2 separate regions of the Homo sapiens genome follow, and region 1 is linked to region 2. Evidence: promoter capture Hi-C in 16 types of primary human blood cells and fetal thymus (Javierre and others, 2016). All regions are on one chromosome and are shown on one strand. The core of a region is centred on a gene start or on the middle of the fragment in contact, and the rest is flanking DNA. Distances in the headings are between cores, read along the strand shown. Region 1 has its middle 12 kb from the start of MIF-AS1. Region 2 holds the start of ZNF70 (zinc finger protein 70).

Region 1 (6,054 bases), core at 998-3,497, 160 kb after region 2:
GGAAGGCATGCCTCTTCGCAGTTGAGACAAGAGGAAGGCATCTGTCTCCTGCCCGTCCCTGGGCAATGGAATGTCTCAGTATAAAACCCGATTGTATATTCCATTTACTGAGATGGGGAAAACCGCCTTAGGGCTGGAGGTGGGACATGCGGGCAACAATACTGCTCTGTAAGGCATTGAGATGTTTATGTATATGCACATCAAAGCACAGCACTTAATTCTTTACCTTGTCTATGATGCAGAGACCTTTGTTCACGTGTTTATCTGCTGACCTTCTCTCCACTATTATCCTATGACCCTGCCACATCCCCCTCTCTGAGAAACACCCAAAAATGATCAATAAATACTAAGGGAACTCAGAGGCTGGCGGGATCCTCCATATGCTGAACGCTGGTCCCCTGGGTCCCCTTATTTCTTTCTCTATACTTTGTCTCTGTGTCTTTTTCTTTTCCAAGTCTCTCGTTCCACCTAACGAGAAACACCCACAGGTGTGGAGGGGCAACCCACCCCTTCAGGCTGCATCAGCAACTCAGTTATCCAGGCGCAGGTTCTAGGGTACCCACGTGTTGAGCTCAGTCCCTCTGACTCCCAAGCCAGGACTCTGTCTGACGGCACCTGCTTCGGTCAGGGCGTGGGAGATTGGCCTGGGCAGGCTCTTCCTCCCAAGGCAGGGTCAGTGTTGAGTAAAGGCCAGGACCATTTCCCCAGACAGGCAAGGCAGGGCCCAGGCCTGGGTCCAGGGCCTCTAAGTCCACGTCCCCACTTTGGCCACATGGGTCATGAGGGGTTTCTGTGTGAGTGGCCTTTTACACTTTCCCAAGCAATTTCCCCAGACATTATCTCATGTTATCCTCATGAGGACCACCCTGTGAGGTAGGAATTAGCAACCCTGTTTTAAAGGGGAAACTGAGGTAAGGTATGACGCTTTCCTGGCAGGGCCAGCCTCTGGCACAGCAACAGGGGGACAGTGAGGATGGCCAGATCTGGGTGCCCCTCCCCACTGCCTTCTCTTCCAAGCTACAGTCTTTTATTCAAATTCTTCTCCTCTTTTTCTCTCTCATTTCCCCTCCCCCGCTGCCATGTTTTTTATGCTTGTGGATGTCTCATGCAAGAGTGTTCAATAGCTCCTCCCAGCAGTCTTAGAAGGGAGTGTAAAGATGACCAGACACGGAACCCCGAGAGTTCACTGGGGGTTCCCAAAGGCATGTATAGGATCCAACGTGTTTTTTCTGCCTCCCACTCTGCCCCCTTTCAAGAAGTGCACCTGTGGTTCAAAGTTCAGCTTTTACTGCCGGTGCATGTGTAGGAGAGGACAGGGCAGGCTAGAGCCCTGCTAAGGGCCAGAGAATCTCATCCCACCCAGAGGAGGGTTCTTTTAGGCGGTGGGTACAAATCTCAGAACATCCCCACTGTATTGTTGAGAGGGTGAGGTGGGACATGTTGGGGGAAGAGCGAGCTGCAACCGGTGCAGCTGCGATTATTCAGAGCAGAGGTGGCTTCAGAGACAACATTAAGCTTAACCCTCAGGGGCCCTCTTTGCCTTGGGAGGAGCCCTATCAATGCTTTTGTCATGTGCTTTTGGAAAATATGTAGAAGACATTTTTACAAGTTGGTTGAGGCCTAGTGTCTCTTTTCAGTTCATATTCTCCCTCTGTCACGCGTCTGTCCTGTTGGAATGGCTGTGGCTATTTTGGATATGGCTAAGGGAGAAGGTAAAATTGGGGATCATTTTGTATGAGTTTAGTGGGACACATTTCTGGGCTTTGAAGTCACTTCTGTATCTACTAAAAATTGCTATAGTTATCTTTGTGCATAAATTACTTCTGGCTGATGTAAGCAAATCCCCGTATCGGGACTCAGCCGGGGAGGGTTTTTGGCTTTGCTCAGGAAGGAATTCAAGAGTGAGCTAACAGACAAAACTGAAAGCAAAGCAAGTTTATTAAAGCAACATTGTACAGCAAAATGGCTGCTCCACAGACAGAGCAGGGCTACCCCACAGGTAGAATAGCACTCCAGGATTGCTGGCTAGCTATATTTATACCCCCTGCTAATTATATGCTAAATAAGAGGCAGGTTATTCATAAACTAGGAACAGGAAGTTCCTGGAACCATATAAGATAATTCCTGGGTTATTGCCGTGGGATCATTTGTAAACTGTCATGGCCCTGGTGGGAGTATCTTATGCAAATGCATTTTAATTCCTATTCCGAGCTGGTTTTGGCCATTCTTTGTTATTGTTATGTTCTGTTTTGATCAGCAGGGTTTTGACAGGTGCTTGGAAAAATCCTGCTGATCTCCTCCCTCACAGGGACATGCCTACTGCCAAAGGAGAGACGGAATTATCTTTCTATTCTCCCCATAGAAAATATTACAAAATCACTGTCACACGAAAATGTGATCAAAGAGTCTGCAGCCAAGAAATATGGGGGGGACAGAGTGTTTTAAAGGCGAAGGTGTGTCTGTCACTTAGTAAAAATGTCAGGATTCTTTTTTTTCTGGAGTTTGTGGTGTTTGTCGGCTTTTCAAAATTTGTCATTCCTTTTCTTAATCTAAATAATCATTTTATAGAGAAAAAAAATTACTCATCAGTGTTGATGATGCCCTGGTTTTCTGTTCAGCTTTGTTTTCCAATCAACTCTTCACCCAAGACTCAATCCTCCACCCTCCAACTCTTCATCCAAGACTCAATTCACCCAACACTCAATCCTCCACCCTCCAACTCTTCACCCAAGACTCAATCCTCCACCCTCCAACTCTTCACCCAAGACTCAATCCTCCACCCTCCTCCAACTCTTCACCCAAGAGTCAATCCTCCCCTCCCAGTGTTTACTGATCAGCCTCCTATCAGCTATTAATGGGACCTCAAACATTCTCTATGGCTCTGTTCTCACGCAATGCAATCTGCTAATCTCTAGGAACTGCAGACCCCACTTAATGCATTTAAAGTATGTATAATGTGACCCAATAGCTTCTTTATCCCAAGCTTATTGATTCCTATAAGAATCATCATCCTCAAGTCACACATGAGGAAACTGAGGCCAAGGCCAATGCTAAGGCTGATGGAAGTGACAGATGTTGAAGATGACACAGCATGACACGAGGGATGAGGTCAAGGCTATTGATGAGGTCAAGACAGCTGTTGTGCTTTGTCCCAAGGCCATTCCAGTTGGTGACAAAATAACTATAACAGATTCCTGGCCAGGGCTTCTCCCTCACAGCAGCTGCCTCCTACTGGAGTCAGAAATGCCTTGGTTTATATAGTTTCATTCATAGGCTGTCTTAACTCTATTTAAGCAGAAAAGGGCTGAAATGTCTTGCCCAAGATCCCTCAGCTAGTAAGTGACAGATGCAGGTTTCAAATCCAGGTCGCTGGACTCAGGGCAGGGCCAGGGGGAATGAGGGCAAACAGACTGGCAGCTGATCAAACTGACACTGCCTTCCTGGTAAAGGGGACAGTGAGGAGAAATTGACAATAGCAGGAGGCTCTGACCACAACAGGCTGCCTCCAGTCTCTTCTCTCACCAGTGGCCCCCAAAGCCACGTGAGTTGGGCTTTCTGACCACACTTTATTGCATTTGCAGACCCTACATGCTTTAAACACACTTTTAGTATCTCACTGGGTCTCTAACAACCCCAGGAGTGGGCAGGGCAATAATTATTTCACAGTTGACAAAGCAGCTTCACGAAAACATTGGGAGCTCAATAACTTCCCTATTGGGATGCACCCCCAGGAGCTGTTCAGTTAATGTCATAGCAGGTTCAGGGAATGGGCTTAAACCCCAAGATATCCTACACCATTTTGTACACAGCAGGTTCTGTAGGGAGAAAACCAACAAGGTCTTCCCGGAGGGAATGGGCTTAAACCACAAGATATCCTATACCATTTTGTAAGCCTCCCTGTGATCATTTCCCATCCAAGTACTAACCAGGCCAGACCCTGCTTAGCTTCTGAGATCAGACGAGATTGGGCGTGTTCAGGGTGGTATGTGAAAGATTCTCCCCGGGGCCTGAAAGTTTGGGGGGATGAATAACTCCTCCCTTCTCAGGCCCAGTCCCAAGGCACAAGACCACTTGTGCTAGCAGCGTGTGTCAGCAAGATAGCAGAAGCAGGAAGAGAGCTGGCCAGGAGACACGTACCCCTGAAGATCAAGAGAGAGGCCATCTGGGTACCATGTAGCAGTTACATCAGACTGGGACACTTCCTGTTTACAGGAGACTATAAAACCCCTGCCCCGTCCTCACCTGGGGCTGACGCCATTTTAGGCCTCAGCCCATCTGCACCCAGGTGCTCATTAAAACAGCGTGTTGCTCCACACTGCCTTGTGTTCTTTGCTGGCAAGCTCTCGGGGTTCGAACCAACACAAGAGCCTTACAGTATGGCCGCAGATGTCTCCCAACATTTCACAGAACCTGGTCAGAATAAAACATTCCATGGGGGTTCAGGTCATAAAAAAATACTGCCTAACCACCTAACCACAGGAACATCTCTATTACATCCTGCTGGATGAAGGGCCCAAGGAACATCTTCAACATCCTGCAGGGGAGCAAGCTATACTGCCCCTTCTCCCCCGGTCCAGACCCATAACTGACAGAGCAGGAGCACTGCCATCTTGAACAAATACCACCATTCTAAGTTCCCCCTTCATTAAAAGCCGCCTAAATCCAGCCCCAAAACATCAGCCTAATGGCTAATGTCAGCATAACCAGAAATATTCCAACCCTAAGATAAACCCCTCTGACCAGAAACATGCCAACCCCGAGACAGCCTCCCTTCCGACCAGAGACATTCCAACCCCGCAATAAACTTTCCCTCACACAGAAACATTCGGAACCTACGATAAGACCCCTTCCAAAACCCTTAAATATCCTTAGTCTGTAACAGAAGTTAGTCTGAGCTAACTCGGCCAGAAGCCCCTCTCAAGTTTATTTTCTAAAATAAACCTGTCCTTGTTGACTGCCCAGCCACCCTTCGTGTTGCTTTCCTCTTCCTTATAGTAAATGTCCCAGTCTGTAAGTGGGACTCGTGCTCTGAGACTAAGCTGGTCCCCCCTCCACAGGTTTGTGCTGGCAATAAACCTGTGTTGCTGTTAAGCTGCCAACTCTTTAACCCTCACCTTCCCTTCAAAACCTAACAAAGATGAATGAGGCATGAACATGAAGACAGAGGGTCAAACCCAAAGAGCAGATTCCGTGAGAAGTCTCCCTATTGACAAGGGTTACTAAGGATGGGGTCTTCTCTGGACCCCCTAGTCTTAGACTTAGTCCACCACATCCAGAAGCCCTTGAAATAAGATTGCAGTGCTTCTGGCATAGCCAAAGACATAGACTTCTCTAAAAATCAGTGCCTAGCTCTCCCCAGGCTGGGCCCTAATTTTTAGTCCAAGCTGTATTATTTTGTAAATCTTCCTGCCATTTCATAGACCCTGGTCACAGTGAAACATTCTGCAGGGGTTTGGGCTGTAAGTAACATCCTCCCCAACTGTCTGACTTCTTTATCACATCTTGTTGGGACAAAGGTTTAAGAAATATTTTTATTAACATCCTCTTGGGCAGTAAGTCCTACCATTCCAGACCCCTCATCCAGGCCTATAATGATTCCAGCCTGTAAGTGCTAGTGGGGCTTTGGCATTAAGTTGGTCCCCACCTCTGTAGGTTGTGTTAATAAACCTGTGTTGTAGAGTGGTCAACTCTCTTGTCTTTAACCCTCGTCTTTTTTCAAAAACCTAACACTCATGTGTCCTCTCCCTCACCTTCTCCTGGCATCCCTTGCCACTGTCCCTCTGTCCCTCTTTCCCCTCCTTAACCCAAAGGGAAATCTCTCCCAAAGGTAAAAGTCTCCCAGGGGTTAAGAGGGAGCTTGAGGCACCAGAAAGAGCTATAGTCACAGCCACCTGTGAAAGCCATCTCTGAGGTCCCTTCCTGTCACAACAGCTGGGCTCCTGACTCAGACCAAGACAGCTTTTGTTTCTTTTCCTTTCTAGCCCCCCACTTCCCACCCACCTTTCTGCTTTCTCATATGGGCTCATTATGGTTTATAGGGCTGGGGAACGTTGC
Region 2 (6,497 bases), core at 3,945-6,444:
CCTCCAGCCAGGTGCCCCAACCTGGGAGTCAGCATAACCGCTCTTATTCTCACCCGACCGGTCCCCTCTTATCTACTTCCTGAGGCTGCATGGGCAGCGTCTCTGTCTCTCAGTCCTCACTGCCACTCTGCAGCTCAGGCTTCAGAGCTACCTCCTGGGATCTTTTCAGGGCTGGCCTCCAAACTAGCTGCTGACCTCCGGCTTCCTCCTCTCCCTCTGGTGCATGCCCTACACTAACAATGGAGTCAAATATCCAAAACATAAGCCTGATTATGGTGGTTCCCTTTTTTTTTTTTTTTTTTTTTTTGAGATGGAGTTTCACTCTTTCACCCAGGCTGGAGTGCAGTGGCACGATCTTGGATCACTGCAACCTCTGCCTTCCAACTTCAAGTGATTCTCCTGCCTTGGCCTCCCGAGTAGCTGGGATTACAAGCGCCCACCACCATTCTTGGCTAATTTTTGTATTTTTAGTAGAGACCGGGATTCACCATGTTGGCCAGGCTGGTCTCAAACTTCTGATCTCAAGTGATCTGCCTGCCTTGGCCTCCCAAAGTGCTGGGATTACAGGCGTGAGCCACCATGCCTGGCCTGGTGGTTCCCTTCTTAGGATCTTGTGACAGCCCAACTCCTTCACACCTGGCCCTTCCAATCCATCTCCTGTCTGTCTGCCCCATACACCTCTTCTTTTTTATTTGAGATAGGCTCTTGCCCGTTGCCCAGGCTGGAGTATAGTGGTGTGATCTTGGCTCACTGCAACCTCTGCCTCCCAGGCTCAAGTGATCCTCCCACCTCAGCCTCCTGGGACTGCAAGTGTATGCCACCACACTCTGCTAATTTTTTTAATTCTTTCTTTTTGTAGAGATGAGGTCACACTGTATTGCCCAGGCTGGTCCCCCCAACACTTCTAATTTTCCAGCTCAATGACTAATTTGCACTGCTGTTGTCTGGTCCTAACAGGTAAGGACCATTCTCAGACTGCCACTTGCTCATCCTTCAGGACTCGTCCAAATGTCCCTTTTTCTCTGCACCCTCAGGTTCTTGACCATCTCAGGCCCCCATCGTTAGCTTGAAAATTCCCTAAGGGCAAATACTGTGCTCCTTCATTTCAGAATCCCCAGCCCCCAGCACAAAAGCACAATCCCAATGTACACAGTTGTTGAATAAATTATCAAATGGAGGAAAAGCCATTTGTTTTTCTAGAACTGTCACTTTTTTTGGTCAAAGAACACTTTAGTCAAATAAGTCAACTGTCTAGGACAGGGGTCCCCAACCCCCAGAGTGGGGGACAGGCACCAGTCTGTGGCCTGTTAGGAACCAGGCCGCATAGCAGGAGGTGAGCGGAAGGTGAGCGAGCATTACAGCCTGAACTCTGCCTCCTGTCAGATGAGCAGTGGCATTAGATTCTCATAGGAACTGGAACCCTATCGTAAACTGTGCATACGAGGGATTTGGTTGTGCACTCTTTATGAGAATCTAACACCTGATGATCTGAGGTGGAACAGTTTCATCTCAAAACCATCCCCCATGTCCCCCACCCATTCATGGAAAAATTGTCTTCTGCAAAACTGGTCCCTGATGCCAAAAAGGTTGGGGATCACTGGTCTAGGAGACATAAATAAATAAAACAGACAAGTCCGGGCGCGGTGGCTCACACCTGTAATCCCAGCACTTTGGGAAGCCGAGGTGGGCAGATCACGAGGTCACGAGATCGAGACCATCCTGGCTAACACGGTGAAACCCCATCTCTACTAGAAATACAAAAAAATTAGCCAGGCGTGGTGGCAGGTGCCTGTAGTCCCAGCTACTCGGGAGGCTGAGGCAGGAGAATGGCGTGAACTCAGGAGGCAGAGCTTGCGAGATCATGCCACTGCACACCAGCCTGGGCAACAGAGTGAGACTCCGTCTCAAAAAATAAATAAATAAATAAAAATAAAAATAAAATAAAACAGACAAAAGCAGAGCTGCTCCAGTTGAAGGAGGGCGCGTTAGCAGGGACAAGGAAGGAAGCTAGAACAGCCCACTCAGCACTCCCCCTCCCAGATGTGGCCCCTGAGGAAGCCCCAAAGAGCCCTATTCAGAAACTTCTGTGCTAGATAAAGGCAAAGTCTTCAGGTGACACAATAATGATAGCAACAGCTCATATTCACTGAGCACCTACTCTGTGCTAGGCACTAATAGGTCCTTCAAGGCACCTCATTTAATCTTCACAACTCTATACAAAGGCACAATTATCCTTATACTGCATCTAGAGAGTAACTGCCTCAGAAAAAAAAAAAAAACTAAATTAATCAGAACAGTCATAACAGAACTCATTTCTACTTGGAAAAAAAAATTTTTTTTGAGACAGGGTCTCACTCTGTCACCCAGGCTGGAGTGCAGGAGTAGAATCACAGCTCACTGCAGCCTTGACCTCCCCGGCTCAACTGATCCTCCAACCTCAGCCTCTCAAGTAGCTGGGACTACAGGGGCATATCAACACATCCAGCTAATTTTTTAATTTTTCTGTAGAGATGAGATAATATTATGTTGCCCAGGCTGGTCTTGAACTCCTGGGCTCAAGCAGTCCTCCCACCTCTGCCTCCCAAAGTGCTGGATTACAGGCATGAGCCACCATGCCCAGCAGAAATGATTTTTTTTTTTTTTTGAGGTGGAGTCTCACTCTTGTTGCCCAGCCAGGAGTGCAATGGCCCAATCTCGGCTCACTGCAACCTCTGCCTCCTGGGTTCAAGCAATTCTCCTGCCTCACCCTCCTGAATAGCTGGGATTACAGGCACCCGCCACCAGGCCCGGATAATTTTTGTATTTTTAGTAGAGATGGGGTTTCACTATGTTGGCCAGGCTGGTCTCGAACTCCTGACCTCAGGTGATCCGCCCACCTTGGCATCCCAAAGTGCTGGGATTACAGGTGTGAGCCACCACGCCCAGCCCAGAAATGATTTTTTTAAATGATTTTTCAGCCAATAGACCGACTGGATATAAAAAAAAAAGAGCACTGAACTAAAGTATTTTCTTTTTCCAGAATGGAGTGCAGTAGTGTGATTACAGCTCACTGGAACCTCTGGCTCCTGGGTTCAAGTGATTCTCCTATCTCAGCCTCTTAAGTAGCTAGGACACCATCCTGGCTAACACGGTGAAACCCTGTCTCTATTAAAAATACAAAAAAGGCCGGACGCGGTGGCTCACGCCTCTAATCCCAGCACTTTGGGAGGCCGAGGTGGGTGGATCATGAGGTCAGGAGTTCAAGACCAGCCTGGCCAAGATGGTGAAACCCCGTCTCTACTAAAATTACAAAAATTACAGCGCGTCTGTAATCCCAGCTACTCCGGGAGGCTGAGGCAGGAGAATCGCTTGAACCTGGGGGGCGGAGGTTGCAGTGAGCCGAGATCGCGCCACTGCACTCTAGCCTGGGTAACAGAGCGAGACTCCATCTCAAAAAAAAAAAAAAAAAAAAAAAAAAAAAAAAAGCCGGCCGTGGTGGCAGGTGCCTGTAGTCCCAGCTACTTGGGAGGCTGAGGCAGGAGAATGGCGTGAACCCAGGAGGCGGAGCTTGCAGTGAGCCGAGATCGCGCCACTGCACTCCAGGCTGGGCGACAGGACGAGACTCCGTCTCAAAAAAAAAAAAAAAAAAAAAAAAAAAGTAGCTGGGAATACAGGCTCTACAGGCACGTGCCACACCTGGCTAATTTTTGTATTTTTTGTAGAGATGGGTTTTCGCCATGTTGTGCAGACTGGTCTCGAATTTCTGAGCTCATGCGATCCACCCATTTTGGCCTCCGAAAGTGCTGGTATTATAGGCGTGAGCCCCCTCGCCCAGCCCTAAAGTATTTTCAAAAATTCTTTGATCACTTCAACTCCTCTCACCCTCCCCCTCCTCTTCAGCAACCCATAATCTCCAACTCTTCCAGCTCTCTCACTCAATTTGTGCTTTTCGACCTCATGAAATCCAAGCCATTTTTACTGTAGTTCTCCTTTTCTAGCTCCACCCCTTCTCCATCCAGCTTAGACTCTCCATACTATGCGCATCACTTCAACTCTCACGCTCTAGCACCATGCTCCTCACCTCCTCGTCCGGCTGCAACTAGCCGCTAAGTCCCAGTCTTCTCGGCCAGTTCCTCCTAAGTTGTTAAATGTTGCCAAGAAAAATCATACAACTATGTATGGCACCACGACAAATTTCGAGTTTCCGATTTCAGCTGGGACCTCAGCTCTGGCATTCTATGACCTCCTTATTGCCAATCCCTCTCTTCTCGGTCTTCACCTTCCCACCCCATCTGGCACTGCTCTCCAATACCTCCTTCTCAAAACCCTTCATTTCAGAGGTTGCAAATTGGCAGCCTGAAGATCCTGCTATGTTATGTTTGGCTCTCGAAGAGTTTGGCTTTTCCTGTTCATTTTCCTTAGTTACCAATATTTAAAACTCAGTAGGTTTCTGGCTTTCTCTTGAAAAACGAAGATGTGACAATATCCCTTCACCCGCCCACATTGCCTACCTAGGTGCATGAAAGCTTTGAGCTACCCCCCAACCCCATCCCCACCCTCGCTTTCTTCCCAATTTTCATGGCTTCCAAGTTCTCTTTCTTGATATCTTTAGATTGCAACTCTTCCTCCGCCCACCCATTAAGTCCTGGTGTTCTCAAACTTCCCTCCGTAGAGGTTTTCCATTCCCACTATATAGCCCCTACACCCTGAAGTCTCCACTCAGAAAAAAGTTGGCAACCCTTTATCTGTCTCCCACAACATGATAAGTGTTTTTGGACCGAAAATGCAAAGATCTGGAACTCCATGCTTCCCACCTCTGTCGGGGCCTTCTCCGGGTCCTCCTGCATCTGTCATCCCATCCTCCAGAGAGTCCCTAGGGCCTGGGCACCCTGCAAACTCTTAGTGCAGTCAAGGTTTCCTGGCTGGGGGCCCAAGAGTTGCCACGGACCCGCACACGCTGCCCAGGCGGCGACGTGGCGCCCCTACAGGCTTCCCCGCGATTGGGGACACGCACACCCAGGGCCACCGGAGGGACAGGTGGTCAGGCGGACTCAGGTCACACCGGCGGACGCGGGGCCACTCACCTGGGCCGGGGCGGGGCAGCTCACCTGGGCCGGGGCGGGGCCGCAGGCGGGCGGGGCGGGGCCGCACCTGAGCTGCTCCAACCCGCGGCCGACGCGGCCGACGCTGCCTGGCTCCACAGCAGCTGCTGACGCGGAGCCCGCGGCCGCCCGAGCACCCAGAGCCCCGCCCCCGGCCCGCGGGCACTTCCGGGACCACTCTAGGCCGCGCGGAGGTCCCGGCGTCTCGGTGGTCCCACCGCGCCGGTTGTCGCCGCGCGAAGCCGCCCGGGCCCCGGGACACAAGGACCCGAATCAGGAGAGTCTCTCCAGTCGGCATGGTGGCTCTGGCCGTCCCCGAAGCGCGTGCTGGACGTGGGGGAAACAGAGATGGGCAGGCGTTGGCAGGAGAGCAGAGGAGGAAACAGGTCCGGACGGGCGGGCCGACCTCGAGCCGCCGGCACTCGGGGCATCTGCGCTGGTGCTGGGTGCAAGCCAGAAGCCACTGAGGCAGCTGGGGTCTTCAGGGAAAGGAGAGTGGAGCCCCAGAGCTGTCGACCCTGTCACTGTCCACAGGCACCGGGGTCCTGTTAGGATCCCCCTCCCCCAACCTGCTTCAAGGGTAGCCCTGTTCCTGTCTGCCCTCCCCGCCCCCACAGAAATAGAGATGAGAAGGGGCAGGCGAAGAACTAGGAGTGTCTGCGAGACCATCCCAGGACCCTGAGCCCCCCAACTCTCTGCATCCCAGGGCTGACTTCGACATGAAGCGCCTCCTCTCAGGCGCACCGGGAGGGAAGAGGAATGTGTTCTTGAAATGGCCGCCCCCTTGGCCGGGCGCGGTGGCTCACGCCTTTAATCCCAGCATTTTGGGAGGCGGAGGCGGGTGGATCACGAGGTCAGGAGTTCGAGACTCAGCCAGACCAACATGGTGAAACCCTGTTTCTACTAAAAATTATCCGGGAGTGGTGACAAGCGCCTGTAATCCCAGCTACTGAGACAGGAGAATCGTTTGACCCTGAGAGGCGGAGGTTGCAGTGAGCCAAGATAGTGCCATTGCACTCCAGCCTGGGCGACAGAGCGAGACTCCATCTCAAAAAACAAAAAAAAAAAAAAGAAAAGGAATCTCCGCCCCCTCCTTGCTGCTGATGGCAAGACTGGCCCCTCCACCCAGTGTTCTGCCCATGACACCCCCCCCTCAGGTGCAGCTGCCCAGCTTGTGGGAGAGCTTCCCTCCGCAGACCTTGGCCCAATCACAGGACATCAGGAGAACACACTGTCCCTGGGAAAAAGGATTCTGCCCCAGCCGCCCACCTGCCTTCAGCACCCTCAGCCTTGGCGCTCGAGTGCCTCCAATGCTACCCACACACACCTGCCTTCCTGCCCCATTAATGCTCTGTCGGGCCTTGGGCACAGACTCCAAGGGGTAGGCAGTGGCTGCCCCTCCCCAAGCCAACAGCC

Evidence for each region. The method cuts DNA at HindIII sites, captures the fragments that hold promoters and counts their contacts. A CHiCAGO score of 5 or more calls a contact.
Region 1: a fragment that was not itself captured here is called in contact with the fragment with the promoter of ZNF70 in region 2 in 1 of 17 cell types (naive B cells); the score reaches 5.5 in naive B cells.

What each region holds. Positions count from the first base shown.
Region 1 is chr22:23,907,536-23,913,589 of GRCh38, forward strand. No RefSeq gene overlaps it. Among named protein-coding and RNA genes, the nearest start is that of MIF-AS1, 12 kb to the left of the region's middle. RefSeq lists enhancers at 1-154, 1,001-1,845. The HindIII fragment of the contact is 1,468 bases long and covers 1,514-2,981 here.
Region 2 is chr22:23,745,918-23,752,414 of GRCh38, forward strand. ZNF70 (zinc finger protein 70) reads right to left here and starts at 5,195. Exons shown (of 2, transcript NM_021916.4): 1 at 4,794-5,195. RefSeq lists enhancers at 1-413, 4,953-5,628, 5,511-5,570, 6,411-6,470 and a silencer at 4,911-5,360. The HindIII fragment of the contact is 6,484 bases long and covers 4,504-6,497 here.